Linked DNA regions of Homo sapiens: regions 1 and 2 are each linked to region 3. Evidence: promoter capture Hi-C in 16 types of primary human blood cells and fetal thymus (Javierre and others, 2016). All regions are on one chromosome and are shown on one strand. The core of a region is centred on a gene start or on the middle of the fragment in contact, and the rest is flanking DNA. Distances in the headings are between cores, read along the strand shown. Region 1 holds the start of HPF1 (histone PARylation factor 1). Region 2 has its middle 52 kb from the start of HPF1. Region 3 holds the start of LINC02275 (long intergenic non-protein coding RNA 2275).

Region 1 (4,710 bases), core at 1,099-3,598, 220 kb after region 3:
TATAATCACGTGAGCTAATAGATAGCTAGATACAGATGTAGGTATAGATATAGATAAATAGATACCTATTTGTTCTGTTTCTCTGGAGAACCCCGACTAATACAGTGCATATAATGAAATTATTAAGACTCCCAGCCTCCTTCCTGCATTGGGCTCCAAGAAGTCTGTATATTCTCAAAGTGAGTAATTAGAAGATTACTCTCTAGAAGAAAATAAACAGCTGGTTCTTTCCCCATCATCTTACACCTTGTCCAGCAGTAAACAAGCCTTGCCTATGTCCCCAAAGCACCTTTTTAGAGCCTCATTTTTACATATAAATTGACAGCAAGGATCACCACACAAGATGAAGAATGCCTCTAGCAGAAACAACAGGAACCAAATGTAAACAAACAAACAACCAAAAAAGACTCAAAAGAATCAAAGTCAATGCAGAGTTACGTAGAAAGCATTTTTAAAAACGCTATAATTGACATCTTCAGAGATAAAAGGAGCTATATTCATGAAAAATAATGTAATGCTATAAAAGAACAGAGAATAAAAAGAGCACTGAGAAATAAAGGTATAATACAGAAATTAAGTAATTAATCTTTATTAAGTATAATAAAGAAATTAAGTAATTGTCCAATTAAGTTGAGAAAGTCACAGAGAAAGTAGAATAAAAATATGAAGACATAGAAAATAGGACAGACAGGTAAGAAAAAACATCAGCCAAGAAGGTCCACGATCTAAATAACAAATTTCAAAAAAGAAGAGATACGATGGGGGGTGGGGGGGAAGAAATGATCAAATAAATAATACCAGAAGAATTCCCATAACTGAAGAACATGTGTTTCAGGATTGAAAAACTGGTCGATAGGAATGAGAAAAGACCCATAACCAAGACACTCAATAGTGTTTTAGAACACTGGGAATAGGCCGGACGCGGTGGCTCACACCCGTCATCCCAGCACTTTGGGAGGCCGAGGAGGGCGGATCACGAGGTCAGGAGATCGAGACCATCCTGGCTAACACGGTGAAACCCCGTCTCTACTAAAAATACAAAAAAAAAAAAAATTAGCTGGGCGTGGTGGCGGGCGCCTGTAGTCCCAGCTACTCCGGAGGCTGAGGTAGGAGAACGGTGTGAACCCGGGAGGTGGAGCTTGCAGTGAGCTGAGGTGGCACCACTGCACTCCAGCCTGGGCAACAGAGCGAGACTCCGTCTCAAAAAAAACAAAACAAAACAAAACAAAACAAAAAACACTGGAAACAGAGAAAAGATCCTAAAGCTTCTTGAGACAAAACAAAACAGAAAGGAAAGCAGGTTACATATCAAGAAATTTAGTGACCTGTGAAGGAGAAGGAAATATAACGACATAGTTTCTTAACAATTCTGGAAGCTAAAATATTGCGGAGCAAGCCCTCCAATATTCCGAGTGAAAGTTATTTTCAACCTAGAACTGTGCTCAGCCAGAATAAAAACATTTCCAGACATGCACACTCTGTGGGAAAAAAGACCTGGCAGCAACCTCTCTCAAGGAACTATTGGCGGATATGTTCCACAACATGAGGGTATATAATCAAGAAAAAGGAACACCCAGATTGAGGAAATAGAGAACTCATCTCAGGAATGAGGAATAAGACCTTCCCAGGATGGATGTGAAGGAGGTCCAAGGACATCAGTTGAGAGTTGTGCCTTCCAAATTTTATGTGCATAGGAATTACCAGGGGATCTTGTTGCGATGCAGATATTGATTCAGTAAGTCTGGGTAAGGCCTGAGATTTGGCGTTTTAACAAATTCCCTCAGGATGCTGAGGCCGCTGGTTCAGGGACTACACTTTGCATATCAGCGGTGTAGAGGAAAAACAGTCCAAATTGTACCAAGAAGACGACGGTACAGAGACAGAGACCGACAGACATTTATTTCCTTCTTGGAGACAATCGGGAATGAATTAGTGTAAGCCAATAACCGTACAGTAGGGTAGGGAGAGGGATGGAGGAGAAGGAGAAAAGGATTAATATTTTAAGTAAATATAAATGAAGAAAAAACAAGGAAGGGGCTGTATTGAGAACAGCCGCATACATCCAACCTTGCCTCTAGTAGACACCTGAAGAGGAAGGTTGGACCACTCTAAGGATTCAGATTCAGTAGTCTGGGGGGTCTCTGGAGCGACCCTGGAAGATGCTCCAGAAAGCCTAGATGCAGACTACGCTGACAGAAGACGCTCCTTGCACGCGCCCAGCACGGGAGTGGGCGGGGCCTCAACGCGTCCGGTGCCAGGTCTCAGGGGGCGGGGAATGGGCGGAGCCTTTCCCCTAAATTGGCGAGCCCGGGCGGCGCTGAAATTCGGCTTGGAGGCTTTTGAACCCGGAAGCGGTTGGCGGCGCTCGGAAGCGGCCGCGGATCGGGGAATTCTGCTGGCGCTGCAGCTGCAGAATGGTCGGCGGTGGCGGGAAGCGCAGGCCCGGCGGAGAGGGGCCGCAGGTACTGCCGGAAAGGCTGTGCGGGCTACGCGGGGCGCTTTGGGTGACAGCCAGGGCACCAGGAGGCAGCGCTTTTCATTCATCCAGTGACTATTAAGCTTGCTGTGTGTCCAGGGGCTGCGGTTTGCTGCGGGGATCCTGCCCAGGGCCGCTGTTTCGCGCTCTGCAGGGGGTTGGACCAGGAAAGTAGCTCCTCTGCATCTTCTGCCCAGCTCCTCTTGGAGCATTTCCTGGGGAAACGGATTAAGCCAACCAATGGTTCATTCGCCCAGCCAGATTGATTGGGAACCGATTACATACCTGACATTCTGTGGGGCGCTGCGGATTTGGGGGTCAACCTGCTTGCTCCTGCTGCTTGTTGAGCCCTCGGCCTGGGGAGGAGGGGCACAAGCAAATATGCATTCTACTGTGACTTTTTTGTTTGGGATTATAACGCTGGTGTGTAGAAAGTGCTATGGAAACACTGAAGGAGGATTTAACAAGTCCCAGGGGGTGTTAAAGAAGACTTTTAAGACAACTCTTTGAAAATTGGTTTTGAAGGCAGAGAAGTAAGATTCTGAGACATAAAACTGTAGGAGATGTTTGGGCGTAGCGGAGCGTTCGGCTTGGCTGGAGCCAGGGAAATGGGAAAATAAGAGGGACCTGATCATAAAAGCACTACTGAGAGGGGAGGAGGAGAGAGTGTGTGCATTCTCATACTTTACTACGATTTCGGAAGTTCTGTAACCACTACAGTAGCAATAAGGGGAATCAGGAAAGAAGTGCCATTGTGATAACTAAAGTTTTAGAAAAGTTACTCTGGTAGTGTCATAAATCGGACAGGGTGAGACATTCTTAGAGGGCTTAACTAACTGTTAAAGGGCCATCGGTATAGGCATCCTTCATATTGGGTCATGCATTCTAGGAAGACCAGGGTAAAGAAGAAGTGTAGCCTCTGAAGGGGACAGCTGTTCTAAATCCTAGTTGTTAGGGCTATGGAGATGCTGAACTAGTGTGTGAGTAAAGGCACAGCTGAAAAAATTCTCTTTTTGAAGGTGCAGTGAAGAACTGCTTTGGTGGAGTGATGTGCTTAACTAGAAATACAATAACAGAAATGAAGATGAGTCTGTAGAGACTATAACCGTAATGGCCAGCATTTGTATATTATGTGCTAGGACCGTTCTGTGTATTTTTACATATAATAACATTCCTTGTAACAACCCCGATATAGGCACTGTATGCCCTTTTTGCAGATGAGAAAACAAAGCACAGAGAGGTTAAGTAACTTGCCTAAGGTTGGAAATCAGTAGAGTCAGGAGTCAACCCAGGCAACCTAACTATTATGCAAAACTGCCTTTCAGCAAGGCAGATTAAGCCTTTTCTAACATCTTAAGTTGGAGCCAGTCTTTGAACGTCTGAACAAAGACAGTTATGAAAACAGAAGATAGGATAGCTCAGGACTTCATATGTTCCTACTGTTCTATATTTGATGTTGGAGAAGCAGCATAGTGAAGTGGTTGAGGATCTGCTGTGGACCCAGATTTAAACCTGAGTTTAAATCCCTTCTCTTCCACTTCCTAGTTAGGGACGTAGGGAGGTTAACCTCAGTTTCCTCAGCTGTACGATGAGGTTAATGGTATCTAGTGCATGAGACAGTTGAGGACTAAATGAGTTAATCCACAGAAGGTGCTTAGAACAGTGAAACAGCACAAAATAAGTTCTCAGTAAGTATCACTTAACTACTTGTTTTTACTATTATATTATCTTTACTATTACTATTTGCTATTATTGATACTCACTTTTGGATTCATTGTTCAACAGGCTTTTTGTTGAACGTAATTTTTTTTATAAATCAGACACATTATAATCCTTGGCATAATAAACTGTTACCATATTCATGATCGTCTTTGACCTTATTTATGTTAAGTAATGTAACAAACACCAGTGAACCCATTGCCCAATCCCAAAGCTGAAACAGACAATAGCTCTACATCTACACGTGTTCCTCTCCTATCCGTTCAGCCTTCTTCCTGTCAATTATTTTCAGTGTAGCTATCCTGAATTTTGTTTTCCCTTGCCTTTTAAAAATAGGCTTATCTCCCATGAGTGTATACCTAAACAATATTTATTCTTAGTTTTTGAACTTCATAAAAAGGCTATCATGCTGCATATAATCAAGAGCTTTTTTCCTCATTAAAAATATTGAATATAGGTTGGTCCATATTGTGTAGCCATAGAGTAACCATTCGGTAAATGACGGAGATTGGTTC
Region 2 (4,339 bases), core at 144-2,643, 170 kb after region 3:
AGGAAGATGACATTTATGTTTCTGCTCATAGGACATGTTTGAATATTTACTCAAAACACACTTAGGTTCTAGGACCACTATGGTAAACTGTTGGAATTTTTTAGAAGTCCTCTGTCTTAGAACATTTTGCTGGCTTCCCTTTTTACATTAAGTGATGTCTGTCATTCAGATAAGTTTGTCTGTATTCCCATAAGTCTTGACGTCACAGAAGTGAATCAGCAGGAAACCATCATCTTTAACACATTTCCTATTCACTGACAATCATCCTGGATATGGAGCCCAGTGTACAACGACAAAAGCTTTCTCTCCCTTCTTAGGACAAAACATTTTATGGGAAGAAGAGAATCTTGGCAGAATCCCACTGTTCAAAATGAAGATAACAATGTACAGATTTGGTCCATTGCAGGAAAAGAAGCATTTCACCCAGAGGCCTGATGCTTTAACCCACAGTCAGACTTGCCAGTTGAGGAGAATCACATTTAGTGAGCCTTCCTCTGCAGGGGGATTCAAATCCTGGCTCCCCACTTAATAGCTCTGTGATCTTCTATAAGTTATTTAACCCTTCTGTTTTTTCATCTCTAAAATAAAAACAGTAATAGAAGCTACCTTGCAGCTTTGGAAGGAATTAATGATCTAGTCCATGTACGGTGCTTTAAGCACAGTGCCTGGCCTGTATAAACACTCCATGAATGTCACTACTGTTATTACGATTGGTCATTTGACTCCCACCGATGTGCCCTCTCACTGGCCCCTTTGTAGAAAAACACACTCTGCCCTTGGGTCAGGTCCCTTTAGATAATTTAACTGCATTCATTCTCAGGGTGACCAGGAGGGTTGGCAAGGGTAGCTGTCATATAACTGGGTTCATGGTATGTAAATATGTCTATAATTAGACTGCAGTGTTCTTAAGAAAGGAGTTCTCAAGTCATAGTTTGTGTATATCTTTTTAAAAAATCTGATTTGCACACATATTTAAATATTTAAGACCATATAGACTATTGAAAGAAACAGTATTTTTTAAAGAAAAGCTTATTTGTTCATGAGGCGGTTTATTAGTAAGTATTTAGGAAATAGATTTAGTATGAAAGTAGTCTTCATCTCCTTGTCCCTTAATTAAATATTTACACTTTTCCAAACTAGTTAAATGAGACAAAATTAGATTTTAAGACAAAAACAACTCATTGCCTTTAATATCACTATTTAAAATGCTAATTACATTGCAGATAAAAAGAATTAAAACTTTTGTAACTTAAAAATAAATGTAATTCCAGAGTCAATATCATATAAATAGGTGCCCATCTGGCCAACCTCAGGATTGCCAAATTTCTTCTCCCTCAATTGTTTCCTTGTTAACAAGAGTTTAAACAGCTCCCTCTTGTGGTCTAAAAAGCCATTGGCAATCCAGAGTTAGGTCAGCTTCTTATCTGTCGTTTTATTCGCTGCACATTTATTTACTACATTATATATTGTGTATTTGCTACAGTAGTGGAGGAGAAGAACAGTAACAGAGGACAGGGATGAATGTTGTTGCCTATGGGGTTAATATGGACACAGTCAGCTCTAATGTTTCATTCAAAGTGTCACTCTGGGATGGTGTTTATGCTGCTTGTAATTCAGGGACGGTATTTCTTAAAATGAAAGAATGAGCTTTGGTCAGAGCAGCTTATTAAGTGAATGTTTGCCTGCCTTGATTGGTTGAGCTGCAAGATGCTCAGAAATCCTGATACCCAATCTACCTATTTTCAGCTGAAAAGCTTCAGATCCGAAAAGGTGTAAATGAAAAGTCCCCTTCATTGACATCTCATTTACATGTTCAGGTAAACTTTGTCATAGTTCCTGAGACTCTGCTTTAATTTGCTCATTTTCTGAGCAGCCATTACATACATGACACTGTGCTAGATGCTGCAGATACAACAGCAAACAAAAAGACCCGGCCCCACAGTGTCCACAGTCTAGCGGGAAGACAAGCATTAGACAGTTACTCTAACAGTTGTGTTGGTAAATGCAATAAATGTTGGTGTTAGGTGTGGCAATCACTGCCAGTGAAAATAACAGGAAGATTTAATGTAGACAAGAACATTGGAGGTGGTCTCTCTGAGAAATGACAGAGCAGGAATTTGCCAGGTCAAGGGAGAGTGGGAAACTAAGTAGAAAAAAAATCACATATACCAACGTTGAGGACAGGGAAAAGCTTGACTCTTGGGAGGAACTGGAAGAACAAAATGGAGCTGCAGAGGTGCCCAGAGAGGGCGGGGGACGGTGTCAGGCACAAGCCAGTTCACACAGGGCTTCACAGACCACGTGCAGGCCGAGGGAACTATCCTAAATGCACTGGGAACTCATGACATGTTTCAAGTATGTGAATAACCTGGTATACTCTGCTTTTTTGTAACTGTCCCGCCAGCTGCATGTGTAGACAGGAGGAGAGGGAAACAGGAATGGAAGTGAGGACATGGATCAAAAGACAAAGCAGCCTTCAAGCAGGAAGTACTGCCAGTGGAAGGAGTGAGACTTTAGATAGATTTGAAGATGACATTGACAGGATTTGGTCATGAGATAAAAGAAGGGGTGAGGGAAAAGGAGGTTTAAAGATGAATTCCAACACAGCAAAGACCATGAACTATCTTTGACGACAGACAAAAGAATATGGATCAATCTCACAACTGATGTTTAATTAAGAAGCCAGGCAAGACCAGGAGTGGTGGCTCACATCTGTAATCCAAGCACTTTGGGAGGCAAGGCAGGCAGATCACTTGAGCTCAGGAGTTCAAGACCAGCCTGGGAAACATGGCAAAACCCCATCTCTACAAAAAACACAGAAGATGAGTCGGGCATGGTGGTGCACACCTGTAATCCCAGCTACTCAGGAGGCTGAGGCGGGAGGATCGCTTGAGCCCAGGAGGCTGATGCTGCCAGTTAGCAGCAAGTGCACTGCTGCACTACGGCCTGGGTGACAGAGTGAGACCTTGTCTCAAAAAAAAAAAAAAAAAATCATAGAGGAATGCATCCTGTAGTTTCCACTGCCTCCCTTCTGAGAAGCTGCCAGGTACCCAGTCAGGGGTCTCTTTTGTACCAGTCTGCCTTCCAAAATCACAGCAAGGAGAACAAACATGAAAAAATCAGGGCCTAAGGTTTGAGTAGTAAGAGACAACCAACCAATGAAGAAATTTATGGTTAGTACCTTGGTTGTTCAAGGAACTGCTTAAACTCTGAGCAGGAGAGAAAGGGAATGTCCATTTCTAAACATTCTATTCAAAGTAACATAACCTGAGCATTCTGGCCAACAGATTAAGGGAAGTAAAAAATCAGAATTCATATATTTTTTTCCATAGAGATGCTTAGTGTGAATATATGTGGAAAAAACCTATGCCACACAAAACCATAAAAAATATTATTTTGAATTTCCTGCTTATTTCATGCCCATTGTATCACAAAGTTTTCAGTCACTGGTATGAAATAAAAATAGATTTTTGTGGCCCCAAAGCAGAAAGCATGTTCTGGTTAGGAAAAGAAACACCAGCCTCTAAAATTGTCTGAGAGTTAGAATGAGATTGAATAAGGAGCCCACGCCTTCCAGCCGAGAAAAACCACATTTGAATGTGGGAGATCATCTGAGGACATTATTGGAGAATTTCCCATAGAAGCATCTGACACTAAGCAGAGAAGAAAACATAATTTCCATATGAAACAGGAAACAAAATATGAGGAAGAGAACCAAGAGTTAAGAGTGCACTTAGGTGGCTTAATTTGGTAATTCATTTCAAAGATAGACGAAAGGAAAGTGTTTAAACAGAATTGCTTTATTTGTTCTGACAGCTCCCAGCCTGAATCAGAAATCTTTACCATCTCAATCCCATAAAGGGGAAAAAATTCTCTTCTTTAGGGCAAGAAACAAATGTTTTCCCATTTGCTTTAGATGGGGTATTGAGTTGACCATTTCAGATTTTGGTACGTTTGTCTCGTTCTTCATAATTAGTCTTCAGAAAGAAAAGAAAAACAAGACTGAATCCTCAAAGAGAAGATAGAAAGATTCCACAAGTCCAAGAGGGACAAATAAAATCATGACCCCATTTTACTTATAGCATTTAACATCACAAGCTTGAATCTCTTGTGCAATTGCTGGTTTCTAAGCAGAATCCCAGAAGAGCAGATGTGAGATGGAGCGGACACAGTGATGAGCATCCCTTTCAGGAAGGCAGGCCTTCAGCTGCTGGGGGTGCTGGCAGCACTCTGGGAATCACTTTCTGTCTAAAAGAGCCAAATCACTCAAGGTCACCCCCTCTTTCTGGGGGCAGCCTGTGTCTGATGACTGGTCAAAGTGTGGTATCAAAGTCCAGCC
Region 3 (4,830 bases), core at 1,108-3,607:
AGATATAGACATAACTAGCATGATATGCCAATTTAAACATGTATTGACTCCAAAATCTCGAGCCTGTGCATTTTGAGATCGATCACATTTCGTTTTACCCAGCCAGTGCCTGTGGATGTTCAGGAGCACCGTTCACACCGCTCATGGAAAGAAGGACTTCTGTAGCTTGCTGCCGCTTCATTTTTCCAAGAAATTACCATTACCTCCTACTTCCTCAGAGAAGTCCAGTTTCTCCTTGTCTTTTTTAATTCTCAGATAATAATTGCACATATTCATGGGGGTACCATAGTGATGTTTTAATACATATAATGTGCTGTGATCAGATCAAGGTAACTAGCATATCCATTGTCTCAAACATTTATCTTTTTTTTTGTTTGTTTTTTGGAGATGGAGTCTCACTCTTTTGCCCAGGCTGGAGTGCAGTGGTGCGATCTCGGATCACTGCAACCTCCGCCCTCCAGGTTCAAGCGATTCTCCTGCCTCAGCCTTCTGAGTAGCTGGGATTACAGGCACCCACCACCGCACCCCACTAATTTTTGTATTTTTAATAGAGACAGGGTTTCACCATGTTGGCCAGGCTGGTTTCAAACTCCTGACCTGAGGTGATCCACCCATCTCAGCCTCCCAAAGTGCTGGGATTACAGGCGTGAGCCACTGCGCCTGGCCATTTATCATTTCTTTGTGTTGGGAACATTCAATATCCCCCTTCCAGCTATTTGAAAATATGTAAAAATAATTGTTAACTTTAGTCATCCTATAATGGTATAGAACACTGGAACTTATTCCTCCTATTTAGCTGTAATTTAGTATCCTTTTATCAAATATATCCCTATCTCTCCCTTACCTCCTTCGTCTTCCCTCTCTTCCTCTTCCCAGCCTCTAGTCTCCTCTGTAGCACTTATTACTTCTATGAGATCAGCTCTTTTAGCTTCCACATGTGAGTGAGAACATGCACTGTTTACCGTTCTGTTCCTGGATTATTTCACTTAACATAACATGGATGGAACTGGAGAACTATATTCCTGGTCTTCATATGCCTCCCTGTCTTGGTCTTCTTATGGGGAAAGGCTGGACCAGATCCCTGGCTTTGTCCTCAGCCTCCAGGGGGTAATGAATTCCTTTGTTTTCCTTCTGTCTTAAAGTTAGCCAGATACTCACAGATAGGCCAGTGCTTAAATTTACACAGGCAATTGCTGATATCCTCCAGGAAATATTGGCTTTTACTGGTTCTCATATTTCTGCCACAGTTATCTCTGGTCACCTCCAGACATTCTTGGTCACCATATGCACCCCCTAACACACATAAAAAATGTCCAAACATCCGTTTTCAATGCTGTGAGTTAATGTTTCCACATGTTTTATAGGGGGCTTTGAAGGATAAGCCAGTGTATCTCCTTAATTCCACCTCTCTTTCCAAACTTCAAGGTGATCAGGCCTAATTTATCTCCACTCACCTGACTCCTTCTTATTGTCCGGATTGCTGGACCTCATAGCTCATTTTAACTTTCCCCTTTCTGAGCCTCCACTGACCTGCACCCCGCTGCTGTCACCACCATGAGAACACTGCCTTTGTTCACCCTTGTTCTTCAGGACAAGTAAACTCATCTCAGAGGCCTCAAGCTATTGGGCCCTGAACTGCTTCCCTATGTGACAGACTGCTTACACACCCATGTGCCCCCTTCCCACCACACCTGCACGTGTTCATGTGTGCACGTGCACACACTTCACACACTTTCAACCCAGCACTTCGCTGGCAGCCAGAGGCAGGTAAGGAGGAGAAAAAAGTGCTAACAGGTTTGTGATTCATTATGATTATTCTCGGAAACAGTCACTATGTCAAGAGGGCTGATCTTACAATGGCAGAACCACATCAGCCTATGACACACATGAAATCTCCCTATCCCGTCTCACGTCCTGCATGGCACAGCAAGTGGACAGAAACACCCTCTCAACCAAAGACAGTTCTTTGTCTTGGTTCTGACATTCCTCTCCTCTGCTTAAGTTTAATGACATTCTAGAGGCAGTAGTGAGGGTGGGATTCAGAGCCAGATTCAAAACTTATTTCTGCTAGGGGCCATCTGCCGCCACTCTGTCACACTCTCCTAAATGGCTGAACTCTATAATCGCTGCACCAGGAGTCTGAGAGGGGCCTTGGATCCCTGAGCTCCTGGCTGACCTGGCATCTGGCAGTGTGCGTGGCTCAGTGGCTGCTTTCTTATGTAACATCAGCCCCGCCCAACCTCGCTGTAAATCCTCTTTCCCAGCATTTGCAGGGTCACAAGAGTCTGGACTCTAGGTATTATTTAACTAAATGGTAGAAATCCTTTTGAACTCTCTGTGTAAATCACTTCTTTCTACTTACTTGCTGTGCTTCTCTGAGTGCCTCGTGGCCTCTTTATCACCACCTGTTGAAGGAAATGTTAGATCCAGATATGGATGGAAGGTAGGCTCAGTTGTTTTTTACTTTTATGAGAATATTGTGCAAATAAAATCTTCCTTGTTCTTACTAAATACTCAGGAATTTAATTTCACCAATTATGAAAGTGCTTACTTTGTAATCTGTTCTTAAACTGAATGGGAACAAATCCTATTGTGGTATGGAGTTACATTCTCTTCTTACCCGGTAAGCAATCAGTCTGTAGAAATGAATAGGACATATTTACCCTGATCAGTTTCTCTGATCTAATAACCCTGGGTCTATTTCTACTTCATACTGTGTATTAAATTTAAGACAAATAGCTGGAAAAATGTGTAAGGATAAGAAAATGTGGACAGTGATTCCAAATATTTCTCATAATTCCCCCATGCGCGCCTGTGGGCTGTGTTGTTTTTCTGCAGACCAGCTGATTAGGGATTCCCGAAGTTCCACAAGATCTTCTTTATGTTAATTGGTAACTAGGTAATTGCGTGTCTCATCAGGATTCCTACAAGTGAAGAGCAGTGCACTAATTCTGATGAGTAGAAAAGTTGGCCAGGAAAAAAATAGATGTTTGTTTTTATAAAAATATCCCTCATCTTGATATTGGTACATCCTGACTCATCAGAAAGTGATGCTTCTCAACGAAGCAAAGCAATCATTCTTTTGTAAAGTTCAAGTAATAATCTTCAGATGAAAACCAAAAAATGCTTATAAATTTGGTGAATAATCCTGAAGCACTTATGTTATTAAAAGTGTCTTTCTGATTAAGACTATCTCTGAAACAGAAAACTAAGATATCCTATTTTGTATCTGACATAACTCTAAATTCATCACTCCTTAAAGAAGTCTTCCTCATGACTGATCAGCTGAATCAAATAATTTTCCTTTTTTCTTTATTACATTTTAATTAATCAGCTGATAAGGTTTGGACACCCAGAAGAAGCAGAAAGCCAGTCACTTTGCAGTAATTCAATTTTCTTTATTGGGGTTGCAATGGTCAAGGAAATAACATGCTCCAAAGATAACACAAAAGTGAACAAAAATGGTTCCTGTCCTGAAGAACTTCACCTTTTTGGAGACTGCATCAGATATGCAGTGAATAACTATTATAAATAGAAGAAAGTAGTAAATACCAGTAATAAATGCCTTCATTGATAAAGAGATAAAATCTTAGTGAAATTCAAGGGAGGGCATAGCATACTTCTGACTTGGAGGAATCAGGAGAACCTTGTGAAGAAAAAGATAATTTCAGATAATCTGTGAATGGTAGATAAGATTTGAACAGATAAATGTAAGGAAGAAAGACTTTCCAAGAAAGAGACTCAATGTCAAATAAGAGGGCATGGTCATAAGGGCAAGGCTGCACTTGACTGGACTCTGGAATATGATGCAGGTGGCATGAGGAAGAAGGTGGGCATCATCAGCTGCAGCTGACTCAGGGACCTTGAATGACCATGTGCAAGCTCTGGCCCTACCACTCGGACAGTGTGGACTCACTAAGAAGTGAGTGGGCCTGGCAAACCCCAGCTTTAGAACGATGAATGGAGAAAAAGTGGAGGCAAGAGGGCACTTCAGGAGGCTGCTGATGAGGTCTGACCTAGGTTAGTGGCAGTGAGGGTGGTTCACAAGGAAGGATTGTAAGAGACATTTCTAAGATGGCATCATCAGGGACCCTGCAACAGATGGTTTCCGGCACAAGAGAGAGGGAGGAGCCAGCCAGGTACAGTGGCTCATGCCTGTAATCCCAGCACTTTGGGAGAACGAAGTGGGTGGATCACAAGGTCAGGAGTTCGAGACCAGCCTGACCAGCATGGTGAAACCCCGTTTCTACTAAAAATACAAGAATTAGCTGGTCGTGGTGGCACGCACCTGTAATCCCAGCTACTCAGGAGGCGGAGGCAGGAGAATCACTTGAACCCAGGAGGCAGAGGTTGCAGTGAGCCAAGATCACGCCATTGCACTCCAGCCTGGGCGAAAGAGCAAGACTCCATCTCAAAAAAAAAAAAAAAAAGAGAGAGGGAGGAGCCAAAAATATATCAGAGATTTTAAGTGTGGATGACTAAGAGAATGATAGCACCAATAGCAGAAATAGGGAGGAGAACATAAAGGAAAGAGAATGTTTGGAACAATTATAAGTTATTCCTGTGATTTTAAAAAATCCATTTTAGCTACTTAAGAGTGACGTAGATGTATATATAAACATGGGATTTGACAGAAATATTTTCTTTCTCCCAGTACGTTTGGGATTATTAAATATCTTCTTGTCCTAGGATTTCCTCACATGGCAGGACTTTCAAAGCCTGCTGAAATAGAAAAATATGCAATGGCATTTTGTATAGTGAAAATACAATACAAAAACACTGAGTTTTCTAGCACTTAAAAATAGACTCAATAATTAGTCTTCTGTTGGA

The links. The method cuts DNA at HindIII sites, captures the fragments that hold promoters and counts their contacts. A CHiCAGO score of 5 or more calls a contact.
Region 1: a contact is called between the fragment with the promoter of HPF1 here and the fragment with the promoter of LINC02275 in region 3, in 2 of 17 cell types (megakaryocytes and total B cells). The highest score is 6.6, in megakaryocytes.
Region 2: a contact is called between a fragment that was not itself captured here and the fragment with the promoter of LINC02275 in region 3, in 2 of 17 cell types (M2 macrophages and megakaryocytes). The highest score is 5.6, in M2 macrophages.

Annotation. Positions count from the first base shown.
Region 1 is chr4:169,755,582-169,760,291 of GRCh38, reverse strand. It overlaps HPF1 (histone PARylation factor 1), which reads left to right and starts at 2,348. Exons shown (of 8, transcript NM_017867.3): 1 at 2,348-2,462. The coding sequence starts at 2,415. LOC107986240 (a long non-coding RNA gene) reads right to left here and starts at 2,229. Exons shown (of 3, transcript XR_001741529.2): 1 at 2,068-2,229. RefSeq lists an enhancer at 2,431-2,500. The HindIII fragment of the contact is 1,294 bases long and covers 1,268-2,561 here.
Region 2 is chr4:169,807,559-169,811,897 of GRCh38, reverse strand. No RefSeq gene overlaps it. Among named protein-coding and RNA genes, the nearest start is that of HPF1, 52 kb to the right of the region's middle. The HindIII fragment of the contact is 726 bases long and covers 1,031-1,756 here.
Region 3 is chr4:169,973,429-169,978,258 of GRCh38, reverse strand. It overlaps LINC02275 (long intergenic non-protein coding RNA 2275), which reads left to right and starts at 2,357. Exons shown (of 5, transcript NR_037878.1): 1 at 2,357-2,443. RefSeq lists an enhancer at 1,610-2,353. The HindIII fragment of the contact is 11,870 bases long and covers 1-4,830 here.